Linked DNA regions of Homo sapiens: region 1 is linked to region 2. The links are contacts of gene promoters, found by promoter capture Hi-C in blood cells and fetal thymus (Javierre and others, 2016). All regions are on one chromosome and are shown on one strand. The core of a region is centred on a gene start or on the middle of the fragment in contact, and the rest is flanking DNA. Distances in the headings are between cores, read along the strand shown. Region 1 overlaps TG (thyroglobulin). Region 2 holds the start of CCN4 (cellular communication network factor 4).

What was found. Contacts are between HindIII fragments. The CHiCAGO score rates a contact against its expected background, and 5 or more counts as called.
Region 1: a fragment that was not itself captured here is called in contact with the fragment with the promoter of CCN4 in region 2 in 11 of 17 cell types (activated CD4 T cells, non-activated CD4 T cells, total B cells and 8 more); the score reaches 8.5 in activated CD4 T cells.

What each region holds. Positions count from the first base shown.
Region 1 is chr8:132,920,990-132,928,170 of GRCh38, forward strand. TG (thyroglobulin) reads left to right here. Exons shown (of 48, transcript NM_003235.5): 22 at 2,349-2,519. Among named protein-coding and RNA genes, the nearest start is that of TG, 58 kb to the left of the region's middle. The HindIII fragment of the contact is 702 bases long and covers 1,359-2,060 here.
Region 2 is chr8:133,187,659-133,194,488 of GRCh38, forward strand. CCN4 (cellular communication network factor 4) reads left to right here and starts at 3,381. Exons shown (of 5, transcript NM_003882.4): 1 at 3,381-3,555. The coding sequence starts at 3,487. RefSeq lists a silencer at 4,253-4,500. The HindIII fragment of the contact is 13,274 bases long and covers 1-6,830 here.

The DNA.
Region 1 (7,181 bases), core at 460-2,959, 270 kb before region 2:
TTCTTGTTGAAGGCTCTCTTTCTGTTTATGTCCTCACATGGTCTTTGCTTAGTACCTACACAGAGAAAAAGAGAGAAAAATCTCCTGTCCTTCTCTTTCTAATAAGGGCATTAACAACATCGTGGGGGCTGCACCCTCATGGCCTCAGTTAAACCTAGTTACTTTCTAAAGGCCTCACCTCCAAATACCATCACACTGGGGATTAGAGCTTCCATATATAAGTTTGGTAAGGGAGGGACACAAACAATCAGTCTGTAGCAAAGTGGAATCAAAATGTTTAGCATAAACAATAAGCATTTATTCCCCACCCATTTTGGGGGTGAGCATTGATTGCATTTTCATGCAGTAGTAGAGAGCTGTATTGAATCATTGCCATTCTCCCAAACATCTTCCCTGAGCAGTGAAAGAGATTTTAGTGAATGGTTCTCTAGGATCAAGGTTGGAGTCTGTGCTAAGGATCTGTTCATACCTAAGAAACTTCTCTATGACTCATTAACCCGCATTGAATTACCAGGCCTGTGTTCTTAGATGGAATTGTACTGAAGAGAAGCACAGGGCAGAAGAGTCTGCCAAGTTTTAAATAATGCCAGATTACAATATTTCTTTGATTTCCTTTTGGTGTTAGGTTAGCTTTTAGAATCCCAACTCCTCTATATAGTTCAGGTCTCTATTATTGATCTTGCTTATACTTTTCTCCTACATTTTATAACTTAGCTGGTTCACTGGACCATGTTTGAGGTTCTGCTGATAACTCTTCAGCAGAAGTAGCTCTTCATTTACTTGTTTGTTTATTGATGTATTAACTCATGTATAGCATGCAGGACATGCAAAGTATTCTATTTAAAAATAGCCTTTGTAACCTCCCACAAAAAAGTTCTTATTAATCAATGGTGAATCACATAACCAATAGTCTGGAAATATAGAAACTCAGATGTTATGAAATCTCTGGGCTGCCATAAAATATTATCTTTCACCTACTTCCCAGACCTGGAGAACCAAATGAAGGCATTCCCTTTTAATATCATTCATCCAAAATTTATTGAGTACCTGCTTTCTGCCAACTGTATAGTGGGTATATATTAAATAAAACAAGTAATGATAAAGTCCCTGTCCTCAAGGAGTTTAGAGTCTGACAGAGAAAAGAAACGTGTGAGCATATCCATGTGATGTAATGAATAGTATAATGGAGGTACATATTAGATACTGTTATAGCAGCTTGTGAGAGGTCTTGAAGGACAAGGGGACATTAGCTAGGGGGCCCGGTGGAGAAAGGCCTTCTAGGAAGAAGAAACAGCTTGAACATGGATATAGAGGTATTCATCCATGGATTTGACTAGCATTTATTGATTTTGGACAGAAGCTTGTTTTGTGGGTCAGACACTGAGCAAGGCATTTGGATACAATAATGAGCAAAACCATACCTGGTCTGTGCCTTTCTGGAACGTCTATCGAGTGGGAGGCAGGCAGTCATCAATCGTTCATTCACACAGGAAAATGGGAATTGTAACAGTGTGCCCTGCTGTGAAGGAGAGGTGTGGGTCCCTGGGATAGTGTGTAACATTTGGGCCTGACTGGGCTGGGACGTCCAGAGATGTCTTAGTCCATTTGGGCTGCTATAAGAAAATACCATAAACTGGGTGGCTTATAAACAGCAGAAATTTATTTCTCACAGTTCTGGAGACTGGGAAGTCCAAGATCAAGTTGTCAGCAGATTTGGTGTCTGATAAAGGTATCACAGATGGCGCCTTCTCACTGTGCCCTCACATGCTGGGAGGAACAAATGAGCCCCCTTGGGCCTCTTTTAAAGGGTACAAATCTCATTCATGAGTGTTCCACTCTCATGATCTAGTCACCTCCCAAAGGCACCACCTGCTAATACCGTCACACTGGGCACTGGGTTTCCACATGTGAATTTTGGCAGGTGGCACCCATAGATTTAGACCATAGTAGGAAGGCTTTCCTGAGACAATGAGAATTGGGATGAAAACAGGTGAGTGGTGGAGAGTTCGCGCAGCAAAGACTGGGGGAGCTGTGGGCCAGAAGAGGGCCCAGATGAGTAAAGCTTGTGTTGGAGCAAATGGTATCAGAGAGATTGGTGTATTCAGGGCATGGAATGAAGCAGGTGGTGTGTGAAGCATGGGGTATGTGTGCAGAACTTAGGGTGGGTGGCGGCCAAATCACAGGGGCCTTATTGATCAGAACAGTGGGAACACTGAAGAGTTTTAAGCTGGAATGTCTGAGTTAGATGTGTGACTTGGACACCTTGTCAATGACCGAGAGCCTGGGAGTAGGAGTCAGGGGATTCCAGAGGCCCATTATTGACGGCTATGTCAATCTATTGGTTCTAGGTGTCACTGACTGTCAGAGGAACGAAGCAGGCCTGCAATGTGACCAGAATGGCCAGTATCGAGCCAGCCAGAAGGACAGGGGCAGTGGGAAGGCCTTCTGTGTGGACGGCGAGGGGCGGAGGCTGCCATGGTGGGAAACAGAGGCCCCTCTTGAGGACTCACAGTGTTTGAGTAGGTGCTGGGGGTGAAATCAGTCATGGTTCCTGGGGACTGGGGAGTAGTCTCAAGGGCTTTTTAGAAAGGGAGAGAAGCTGGAGGTGCATTTGTCTCCAACTTTTTGTTTTGAAAAATTTTAATCTGTGTAGAAGTTGGAAGAACCGCAAAATGAACAAATACCCATCACCTAGATCCAAAAATTGTTAACATTTCACTCTCTCTTTTTTGGAATCATTTGGTATGTAAATTCCAGATATCAGGAACCCTTACTTCTAAGTACTTCAGCATGCACAAGAGATGAATTTTTATATTAAAAGATCTGTGGAGGCCTCCATTCTTCTAGGCAGCTTGACTTCACTAATCTAGTCAGCATTTCTTCCTCAGTAGGACGTTGTAGAGCAGCAGTCCCCAACCTTTTTGGCATCAAGGATCAGTTTCATGGGAGACAATTTTTCCACAGACCAGAGGTGGCAGGGTGGGGATGGTTTCAGGATGATTCAAACACATTGCATCTATTGTGCATTTTATTTCTATTATTATTGCATTGTAATATATAATGAAATAATTATACAACTCACCATAACGTAGAATCAGTGGGAGCCCTGAGCTTTTTTCCCTGCAACTAGATGGTCCCATTTGGGGGTGATGGGAGACAGTGGCAGATCATCAGGCATTAGATTCTCAAAGGAGCATGCAACCTAGATCCCTCACATGCACAGTTCACTATAGGGTTTGCTCTCCTGTGAGAATCTAATGCTGCCACTGATCTGACAGGAGGCGGAGCTCAGGCAGTAATGCTCACTCTCCCAATGCTCACCTCCTGCTGCGTGGCCCAGTTCCTAACAGGCCATGGACTGGTACCAGTCTATGGCCCAGGGGTTGGGGACTTCTGTTGTAGAAGACTTGTGTGCCAGGCCTTGTTCCATATCTTAATTGCTGGGTGATCTAGAGCAAGTTGCTCAATCCCTCTGATCCTCAGTCTCCCCAGTGGCTTTCAGTCTATTTCCTGAGAATCAACATGAACCTATAAAGTCAACAAATACGTATTGAGCTCTACCCTGTACCACGTACAGTTCCTCAGTGAGATACTGGATGGGAAAGTCCCAGGTAAACCATCAGATATGCTACAATATATAGTGTGATGGGAACCAGAGGAACAGAAGAGAAGAGTATGTCCTGTGGGATCAGAAGTAGTTTAATCCCAGTGGTGCCTTTACTGGCTGTGTAGTCTTAAGCAAGTCACTCACCCTCAGCAGTTTCTTCGTCTGTAAAATGGAGACATCAGTTTCCCCCGTTGTAAGAGTGTTGAGTGCCTTAGCAATGGCATTACCTACCAGCGGTAGTAAATGTCTCAGAATAAGAAGGCTCAGAAACAGTATTTGCCCTGTTTCCCCATCTGTTAAACTTGGAGGGAGGCTGAAACAGTCTGCAAGGTCCCTTAATCCTGATATCTTCTCAATCTTTATGACTCTGTTCCACCTTTCCCTGGAGCCACCTGCCTCTGCTTGAGGTCTTGTGGCTAACCTTTGCACATTTGACAAGCCCAAGCAAGCCAGTCTCTTAGTATTTCTGTGGAAGGAGAGGGCCTAACATACATGGGCTTACTGTGTGCCAGGTGTTTTATGTGTTTATCAAATTTGAATCCATGGTAGTCCTAAAAGGTAGATATTATTGCCAATATTTTAGCTGAGGAAACTGAGGCAAAGAATGTCCAAGCACTTCTCTTGGTTCCATAGTTAGGATAGAATATACCTAGAATTTGAATTGGTGTATGTCAAACCACCAAACCTTTGTATTCTTCATTCTACCAATCTGTTTCCACCTAGATTTACCTGCTTCCTCAATAAACATATCCTCACATACACACACATATGCATGCATAGCCTACCTGTCCTCCAGGGAAGCTGGTACAGCTCATGGGATAAAACATTAGTGAAAATCCAAGTGAGAAATTTTCATTTTCTAATTCTCAGAGCAATCATTTCCCTTCTCTAGTGAAGTGCTAACAAGTCCTAAGGAGTGCGTGTGTGTGTGTGTGTGTGTGTGTGTGTGTGTGTGTTCTTGAATAAATTGCAAATCCAATGAAAGTCTTATTTTTTTCCCAACATCCCTCTTCTTGGGCAGAAAAAAACAGGGGAAGTACAGCAGGAAAGTGCTTTGAGAGATCAGTTAGCCAGATGCTTCACAAATGAAGGAGACTGTGTCTTTACAGAATACAACTTGCCCTGCGGCCCTGGTGATCACCATCAGTCCTGGGATTATTGTCTTACGTGCTCTGAGCTCTCTTTGCATCTCTGTCAATGGGTTGGCCTTGAGGATTGTCTTATGCAGTTTGTAGGGCATTTCATGGTGTATTCTGCCCAGTGTTCAGGGCAGAAAGAACAGTTTAAACAGTGGCACCAGAAGTGCTCACGAGTCACAGCTGAGCTTTGACAACTTTGATGATGCCTCCCTGAGGCGCTGGCTTCTGAATAGCCTCCAGATAGAGCTTCAGCATCTTTGGCTTCTTATGCAAAGCTCTGAGCTTAAGTTTCCCTTTCTGGATATGCCTGGGGATTTCTATGCCACTAAGCTGGGCCCTCACTGGGATGTCAACACATCTCTTCTCAGAATTGCCTTTGAGAGGAACTTTCTCTTCGGGAGTAAAATGTTTAAGGCTTTTGTCCTTCAGGCTAGGTCCTTAAGCAAGGGACTTATACCTCCCCAGACAGGTACCTACCTGAGAGGAATTTGCTCCTTCCTCAGCCCTCTTGCCACTTCCTTTGTTCAGGCTTCTGCTGTTACCTACATGGTACTGCCATACCTGCCTAACTCATCTTCTTGCTTCAGTCCAACAGTTTTTCTATGATGCTTCTAGAGCTGTTATTTAAAAGGAGATTCTGCCTATGCAATGCCCCTTAAATCTCTTCAGTGGTTCTTCATTGCTCTTGGGATAAAGCACCATTTGCAGTATCCCAGCCTCCCCTCTGGGCTCTAACCTCATTAGACCATATGTTCCTTTGGGGCTAGAATTGTATCTTATTTCTTATTCTATTCCAGGGCCATAGGTACTCTTTGACAGAATGAATAAATTTCTCTAGTTGTCTGGGATTCTTTGAAACTATTTCCTAAAGGTCTTCAGGGAAGGAGATTCTTCCACCACCTCAATTCCTGTGGTCAATTTTACAAGCCCTGAGACTTAGGAAAGGTGTTCTGCAGGGGACAGAGGGACTTAGCACTTACTGAGTGGTTACCATATACCATATACCATTCCATGCTATATTATTTAGTCCTCACAACCAGAAAACTGAAACTCTCAGAGGTTGCAAGGTGTCCAAGGACACAGAGCTGGTGGTGGCATCAGGACTCGAGCTGAGGGCTCACTCCTGAGTTGGTGCCTCTCCCTGACTGCCTGCTGCCTCTCTCTCTGAAATCTCTCCTGCTGCAGCTTCCTGGCACTCCCTTTGATCTTCTGTTTCCTTTGTTTACTTGCAGAGTTAGTAAAAAATATTTCCACCTTGCTCACTGGAAATATTTCCAGTTCATCTTCCCTTTAACTTTAGGTTCATTTTCCTAATTCTGATCTTTGTCAACCTATGCTGAAGATTTCATATACCACATCAAGTGCCTGAACAGAGGTATTTACATACCTCTGTTCCAATATGTGTGTGCACGTTGTGTGTGCATATGTGTGTACACGTTGGAATTGTGCCATCATAATGTTATCTCCTGGTTTCCTGGTGTTGTGATGATGTTGTTAGTCATTCATTTGCCTATCCCTCCTTTCCTCATATTCTCCCTCCCTCCCTCCCTCCATCCATTCAATATACAGGAAAGTAGTCTCTCTGTTACTATCCTGGCTAGTGAGGGTTCAAATATGATCAGAATATTGCCTTTGCCCTGGAAGGAGATGGGAACCTAAGTAGCCACAATAAACTATGCAAAAATGATGAAATATTAATATATACTGTGCTTTAATGTTAACCTTTTATGCTTTCCTTAAGACATTTGTAAATAGCCGTTAAGTATAAATTGGATAAATGGGAAATTATACCAACAGAATGTATAAATATGCAAACTGACTCCATTGTCATAATTCATTGGCAAATTGGTTCATGGATTGTTTCTGTTCTGCTTGGCCATGAGCTTCTTCACAGAATGCTGAAATGTGAAGATCTCTATCACCAAGGTGTCTCTTTTCTGAAAACCAGCAGATTCTCTAACTGAAGTGCTAAATTTACTGTATTTTTGGCAGAATTTAATTAGAAACTGAAAGACCTTTCAAATTGTATTTAGTCTCCTAGAATATTTTGAGCATCTGGTCTGTACCAATCAAGACTTAGGGACACTGTGATGATTATAACATGGCATTTGCTGGACTGGAGCTTGCAGTCTCTACAAATGAGCTACTAAAGGGTATAAAAATATAAAAAGAGATGAGAGAAGAAGGGCTTTGTGTGGGCAGAGCACGTGAAATTGGCAACTTCAGCAATTAACATGGATGGGCCAGTTTGTAAAATCAGAATTCTTTTCTCTATCAACACTTTTGAAGGCTTAGAGCATGCTGGGATCACAGGCCTGAGCCACCGCGCCTGGCCGAGCATGTCATTAATGCTCACTTCTCTCAACCCAATCCCAAAAGGAATAAACATTTTTTTTCTGCACTTATTATGAAAGCTGAGAAAAAATCACTTTGGA
Region 2 (6,830 bases), core at 2,131-4,630:
TGTCGAATGGGGATAATAATGTCTAATGGGAGACTGGTTGTGAGAATGAATTGAGATGAGGATTTGGTGAGATGGTGTCACCTGGAACACAGCAACTATTGTTCTGGTCCACTGGCCAGACACTTAGTGTTTGCCCGGCTCTTGTGGGGATGGACACACAACAACCCAATCGTAGCAGCCTAGGCTGCGGCCCATACTGGCTCCTCTAATCAGGAAAGTGGGGACATACCAATTATCCCCTTTTGGCCTCCTGAGGACCCTATCTGGTAGACACTAACATCATTTCTTTAAACAAGCAAAACTGAGGCACAGAGAGGTTGTTGATTGTCCGAGGCCCCCAGTAAATGGAAGAGCTGGGGGACACCTTGGCATTCTGCCTCCAAATCTACCATCCTGGCCAGGTCACTGGGCCGTTTGTTTTCAGTTTCACTGACATTGAAGAATGGCAGGTGCCCATGAGGCTCACCGGGTCATGTGAGGTTTCACCCACAGGTGGAATGGTCAGCACTTTGATCATGTTTTGGGGTGCCTGCTTCAATTGCTCGAGACAATTGGATTTCCTAAAAATGATGGTGGAGTTCAATGGCTTCCAGCTCTGCAGGCTCTTGTTACACTTAACATTGAGAGGCTTTGGCAGGTCAAGCTGGCTTGGAAATGTCTGGTCCTGACTCTGTGCCTTGTCTGAGGTTAAGAGACTTTAGTTTCAGCCTCAGATCTACTACTCATACGTGTGCTCTGAAACCATCTAGCATCTCTGAGATGTGTTCCACCTATTTCATAACACTGTCTGCCTTGTAGTCATGAGATGCTCTACAGCACAGAGCCCGTTCATACTTAGTGTTCATCAAAAGCCAAGTGAGCCTAGATTGGCCCCTAACACCTTGGGTTATTTATTAATGACACCTGTCAACAATGCTGGCCTCCTAGGATTTATTTTTTGCTTTGTTTGTTTGCTTGTTTTGTTTTGTTTTTTGAGACAGTCTTGCTCTGTCACCCAGGTTGCAGTGCAGTGGCGCGATCTCGGCTCACTGCAACCTCTGCCTCCAGGGTTCACGCCATTCTCCTGCCTCAGCCTCCCGAGTACCTGGGACTACAGGTGCCCGCCACCATGCCTGGCTAATTTTTTATATTTTTAGTAGAGACGGGGTTTCACTGTGTTAGCCAGGGTGGTCTCGATCTCCTGACCTTGTGATCTGCCCGCCTCGGCCTCCCAGAGTGCTGGGATTACAGGTGTGAGCCACCGTGCCCAGCCTGGGATTTGTTTTTAAGCATCAATAAATTAATGAGAAGAAAATGACTGACATTTATTGGGCAGTCCTTACATGCCCCCCACATACCCTGCCCTTTAATTTTACATATATGATTTTAGTAATCCTCATGTATCAATTAGTATACAACTTGACTCCAACAAAAGAAAATTCAGACTAACTACAGTTTAAACAATAAAATATTAAATTATTTCATGTAATGAGAAGTCTGAATGGTGGCTCCAACAACAACATGAAGTCCCAACGACTCAGACCTTTTTTTTGCTTCCACTCTGCCATCCTCAATTTGTTGACTTTTTATTCTCAGCCTCATATACCCAAAATGGCTGCTGCAGCTCCAACCATCACATTTGCACACAAGGAAAGAAAAGAATGAGTAGATGGTCATTCTCTTCCTGAGGAAGGGAATCTTTTCTAGAAGACCCTAGCAGGTTTCCCTTATGTCTCATTGGCCGGAATTGGATCAGAGGCACATCCCCAGGTCAGTAAATGGAGAAATCATGAGCACCATCTCTTCTGGGGTCATGTCTATAGGGATCATAAACCTCTTCCATGAACACAAGCCTGCTGCTACCTCCAAGCAGCCACACATGCTTCAGCATCCCTTGTTAATAAGCTACAGGAAAAGAGAAGAGAAGGAGTAACTGTCATTTAAACCTCAGTGTCGAGTATTCCTACTGAGACCTGGAGATGCTGAGAACTTGCCAAGGTGTGAGAGGAGTTGCAAGGAGGCCATTGTGGTTGGGCATGGTGCACGAAAGGGAGAGAGGAAGAAGTGTACAGGGAGCTGGCTGGCCCAGGGGCCACGCCAGGACTGGGGACTCTGTGCTGTGTGATGGGCAGGCTTTGGACAGTTGTATCCAGAAGATGATCTATACATGACGCTAGTTCAAGGATTGCTCTGAGATGTGTGGATGGTAGAAGGTGGGCAGGGAGGCTGGGTATCAGTCAGGAGGCTGTGGCAGCGGTCCCCATGGGGAGCACAGGGCTGGACTAGGACAGCCCATAGAAGACATCCCATCTCCTTTCTTGCCCAAGGAAGAGACTCAGTGGCAGCAGTGCAATAAGGGTACAGGCCAGGAAACCCAACCCCCCAGGGATAGCAAGCATCCAGAGACACGTGGGGACAGCTCCAGCACCAAACGGCTTCTGACCAATGAGCAGAGACGGCAAACAGCAAATGCGTTACCGTGGCTTTCACGTGTCATGAAGGTGATGCTGTAACCTGAGCCTCAGAGCTCATTTTATTTGTGAATTCCTATCATCTCTAGATGGGTGGACTGAAAGCCACCTCTTTCGCTTGCAGCTAGGTAGAGGGGAGTGCAAGAGGGCAAATGAAAACCAGAAGTAGGGTTGGGCGCAATGCCTCACGCCTGTAATCCCAGCACTTTGGGAGGCTGATGTGGGCGGATTACCTGAGGTCAGGAGTTTGAGACCAGCCTGGCCAACATGGTGAAACCTCGTCTCTACTAAAAATACAAAAATCAGCTGGGTGTGGTGGCACATGCCTGTAATCTCAGCTATTCAGGAGGCTGAGGCAGGAGAATTGCTTGAGCCTGGGAGACAGAGGTTGCAGTGAGCAGAGATCGCGCCACTGCACTCCAGCCTGGCCGACAGAGCGAGACTCTGTCTCAAAAAAAAAAAAAAAAAAAAAAAAAAAGAAAAGAAAAGAAAAAGAAAAAGAAAAGGAAAAAGAAAACCAGAAGTAGGAGCAGCCTGAAGAAATGACAGGGAGTTGATTTCCCACTGGGAGCCCTCTCAAAGCCCACACACCCGCCTGCCTGGGGTAACAGTATCTCCTCGGACATCCTGCACCCTCCCATGCTCCCCCCTCCCTACAGTAGTGAAAGACCTAGGCAGGATGACCCCAGCTCCTCTGTGAGAATTTCACACCCTAGTGTGAAGTCATAGCCTTGTAACTTTCCCTTTAAGAACTGTCAGAGCTGGGGAGGCTGGCCAAGCTCAGGCTGGAGGTGGGGACAGAGGGAAGAAAGAAAAAAAAAAAAGAGAGAGAGGCAGGAAAAGTTTTTTCAGAGGAAAATGCAGGGTTTGTCCTTCACCCTGACGTCAGATCTTGCTTTAATAAAACCCCCCAAGGGCTGCGGAAGAGGCATATCTGGTGCTCCTGATGGGCCGGCCAGTCTGGGCCCAGCTCCCCCGAGAGGTGGTCGGATCCTCTGGGCTGCTCGGTCGATGCCTGTGCCACTGACGTCCAGGCATGAGGTGGTTCCTGCCCTGGACGCTGGCAGCAGTGACAGCAGCAGCCGCCAGCACCGTCCTGGCCACGGTGAGTCCTGCCTGGAGGGGCTCAGAGGGAGACCCAGCTCCCTTCTCTACTGGGTCCTGCTACATGGGGGCTGGTGGGCAGGATGAAAAGGGCCAGGAAGGTTTGGGGCTGGAAGGTGGCCACTTACAGGGCAAGGACAGAGCCCAGGGTGAGGAGTCAGCTGCCCAGGTTGGCTGAAGCTGGCAGGGTGAGGAGGACGGTGCGACACTTGGGGAAACAAACTGCACAGGTCCAGCCTGCCCTCTCTCCCCACCTGAAACAGTGCAGAAAGAACGGGGCCCTCAGCAGAACTGGGAGTCAGGGGCCCGGGCTCCAGACCCGTCTTCGCCTAACCTGGCTGTGTGGCCTCGGGTGGGTCACTCACCCTCCAGGAGCAGCGTAAAGCGACGAAGTTGTTAGGTGACTTCTAGAGTCTCTGAGTTTGAAAACTCCAAGACTCCAAGCATTGGAGATGCTGCGAAGATGGGAGATGGAAAAAGCCAAAAAAAATTGGAAAGAAAAATGCCAGCTTTCAACAAAAGCTCCTTATTGAGCAAACAGTGCTCAGGGTGATGTCTAACCCCAACTGCTGTCACCTCCGGTCTGCACAGCCCTCTGCAGTCTGCAGAGTGTCCATACTTGGGTCCTGCCTATGAAGCCTGCTGTTCCAGGGTGGGGGTGATGTGGGCACCCCAGAGTCTCTCTCTCTTCCACCTGCACCCCAGGGTACACCAAGGGGAAGGGACAAAGGTCTGCACCTCCAAAAGCCAGGGGAGTCACATATGTGACCGTGTAGAGCCAGCCTGCTAGGGCCAGGCATGGTGAGGAAAAGGCAGAGGCAGGCAGTGCAAGGAGGGCAGGAGGTGGGTACCTGGCAGCTTCTGAGCCCCAGATTCCACAGCCCAGGGCAGGACCTGCTCCTGGCAGAACAGCCTAGAGACGGAGGGGTGATGGCAAAAGAGTGTTTATCCCCAAATGACACTGATGGCTTCCTTGGGGGTTAAGAAGCCCCCTTCACAGATAAGGAAACCGTGTGTTGGGGTTAAACCACTTGCCAGAATCAGACTCTAGGTCTGCTTCAGCCAGAACTGAGGCCGAGAGCCGACAGCAAACTGAGACCTGGGAAATAGGAATTCCTCTCAATGCCTCGGTGTGTGTAATGATGGCGGGGAGTGGGTCTGTTTCATCTTGGTTAAATCCTCACGCCTGGCATGGTGCCTGACTATAGTTGGTTCAGAACCACCTTACCAGAAAGTTATCAGCTCCATTTCACAAATGAAAGAAATGGAAAGTGAGAGCAAGTAAAGGACTTGCCCAGGAGCTCCTCATTAATAAGTGGCCAGGGCCCAAACTTAGATCTTCTGATGCCAATTTCTAACCATTCCTACTTAGGGGAAGCTGACTGTGTCCTACAGGAGTGCCCAGAAGGAGCTAAGTCGCTGTTTATTTCGGCTCTGGGTATGGCTGCGCCTTTATTTGGGTATAGCTTTGCAGGTTGCTATGTCTGGGAGGGCAGGGAGAGGATGGAGAAAAGGTGAGCGTTTGAGAGAAGCCAAAGTCTGAGTGGGCAGAGGAGGCGAGAGGTTTAAGCATGAGTCCAAGTACTCTGGAGCCCCAGTCAGCTCCCAGAACAGCCGGTGCTGAGGAGGAGTGAAGGACAGAGCCGAGGACTCAGCCAGAGGAGACCAGCAAAGGAGCAGAGCGTGTGGAGGGACCCAGGGAGCAGGTTGGAGGGAAGGCTCCCGGGACCAGCACAAGGTACCTCTCTTCTAGGCAGCCCCTGCCTGGGGAACCCAGACCACCCACCCCATGCTTGTTTCATGATTTAGATGCTTCTGGGACAGAGGTGTGCACGGCACTGGAGTTCTCAGGATGTCCTGAAAGCCCCGCCCCCTGTGTGGGCTGTGAGACTGATAGAAACGAGCTGGACTCCATTTGGAAACCAGCCTTGTTTCATAGCCAAATTCCATACATGGTCATCCTCCCGAATTAATATGCAAAGGGAGCACATGTCCAACCAGGGTCTCAGTGAGATCTTAATGGAAAAAATTGTTGTAAATGTTCATATTGAAGAAAATGCATGTGAGAATTGCCAAGAAAACTTTGAGGAAGTAGAGTTACAAGGGGGACTTCTCTGGGAGATATGAAAGCACTCTGTAAAGATTCTGCAGTGGAAGGAGGAAGATGGCAGCCCAGAAGGAGATCAGCCAAGGAGGAAGGCACTGGAGTGATCTCAGGAACAGCCGAGTGTATTTGGGAATTTAATCTGTGCTAAAGGTGTATTGCAAATATGACTTATGCTTTCATCTCTTTATTCTTTTCTTCTGCATTTGTTGAGCATGTCCGCCATGTGCTAAGAGAAAGGGACTCCATTTAATGTGCATTAGCAAGCACTGAGCCAACACATGTATAAGACCAACCTCAGTTCACCCAACAAACATTTATTAGGCACATTCTACAATTCCCATAACAATATTATTTAGCAAGTGCAATTATCCTCCTTAACAGATATGAAAACTGAGACTCGGAGAGGTTAAGTAATTTGTCAAAGGTCACACAGCTGGTAATCAGGGAAGCTGACATTTGAACCTTGGTCCAGCTCTTGGTAATGTAGCCTCCTGCCTCCCTGGTCCAAGGGCAGAAACCAGGGGCATGTAGTCCCTGCCCGACAGAGTTTACTGGCTAGTGGGGCAGGTGACAGGGGTAACGTCAGCCAGAGTAGAGGGGCTGGAATCAGGCTCTGCCACTGGCTGTGTCGGCCGCACTAAGTCCCGTTGCACCTCAGACCTCACTTTCCTCGTTTGTTAATTGGGACTAACTGTCTCACCACACCAAGCTCCCTGCTGCTGAACGTGAAAATGTGCCTGAGGAAAACCTCTCAGAAGTGTGTAATTCAGCAAACGAAAGCTGAGTGATAAAATCCTGGGCAAGCATTAGGCCTGTGGTGGTCTATGTATAGGTCTACAGGTAAAACCCACATCCTCCCTCCTGTATCAGTGCATGTGGGATGTGCATAGCTGCACTGTGTGTGTGTGGGGTGGGGTGTGTTTGTGAGAGGGTGTGTGGGGGTATGCGTATGGTGTGTATGTGGGGTGTGTCTGGTGTGTGTGTGTGGTGTGTGTGTGTATGTGTGTGCCTGTGTGGTGTGTGTGGGGGGGTGGTGGTGTGTGGGGGTGTGTGTGTGGGGTGTGTGTGTGGTGTGTGGGGGTGTGTGTGGATTTGTGTGGTGTGTGTGTGGTATGTGTGTGTGGTGTGTGTGTGGTATGTGTGTGGGGTGTGTGTGTGTGTGGTGGGGG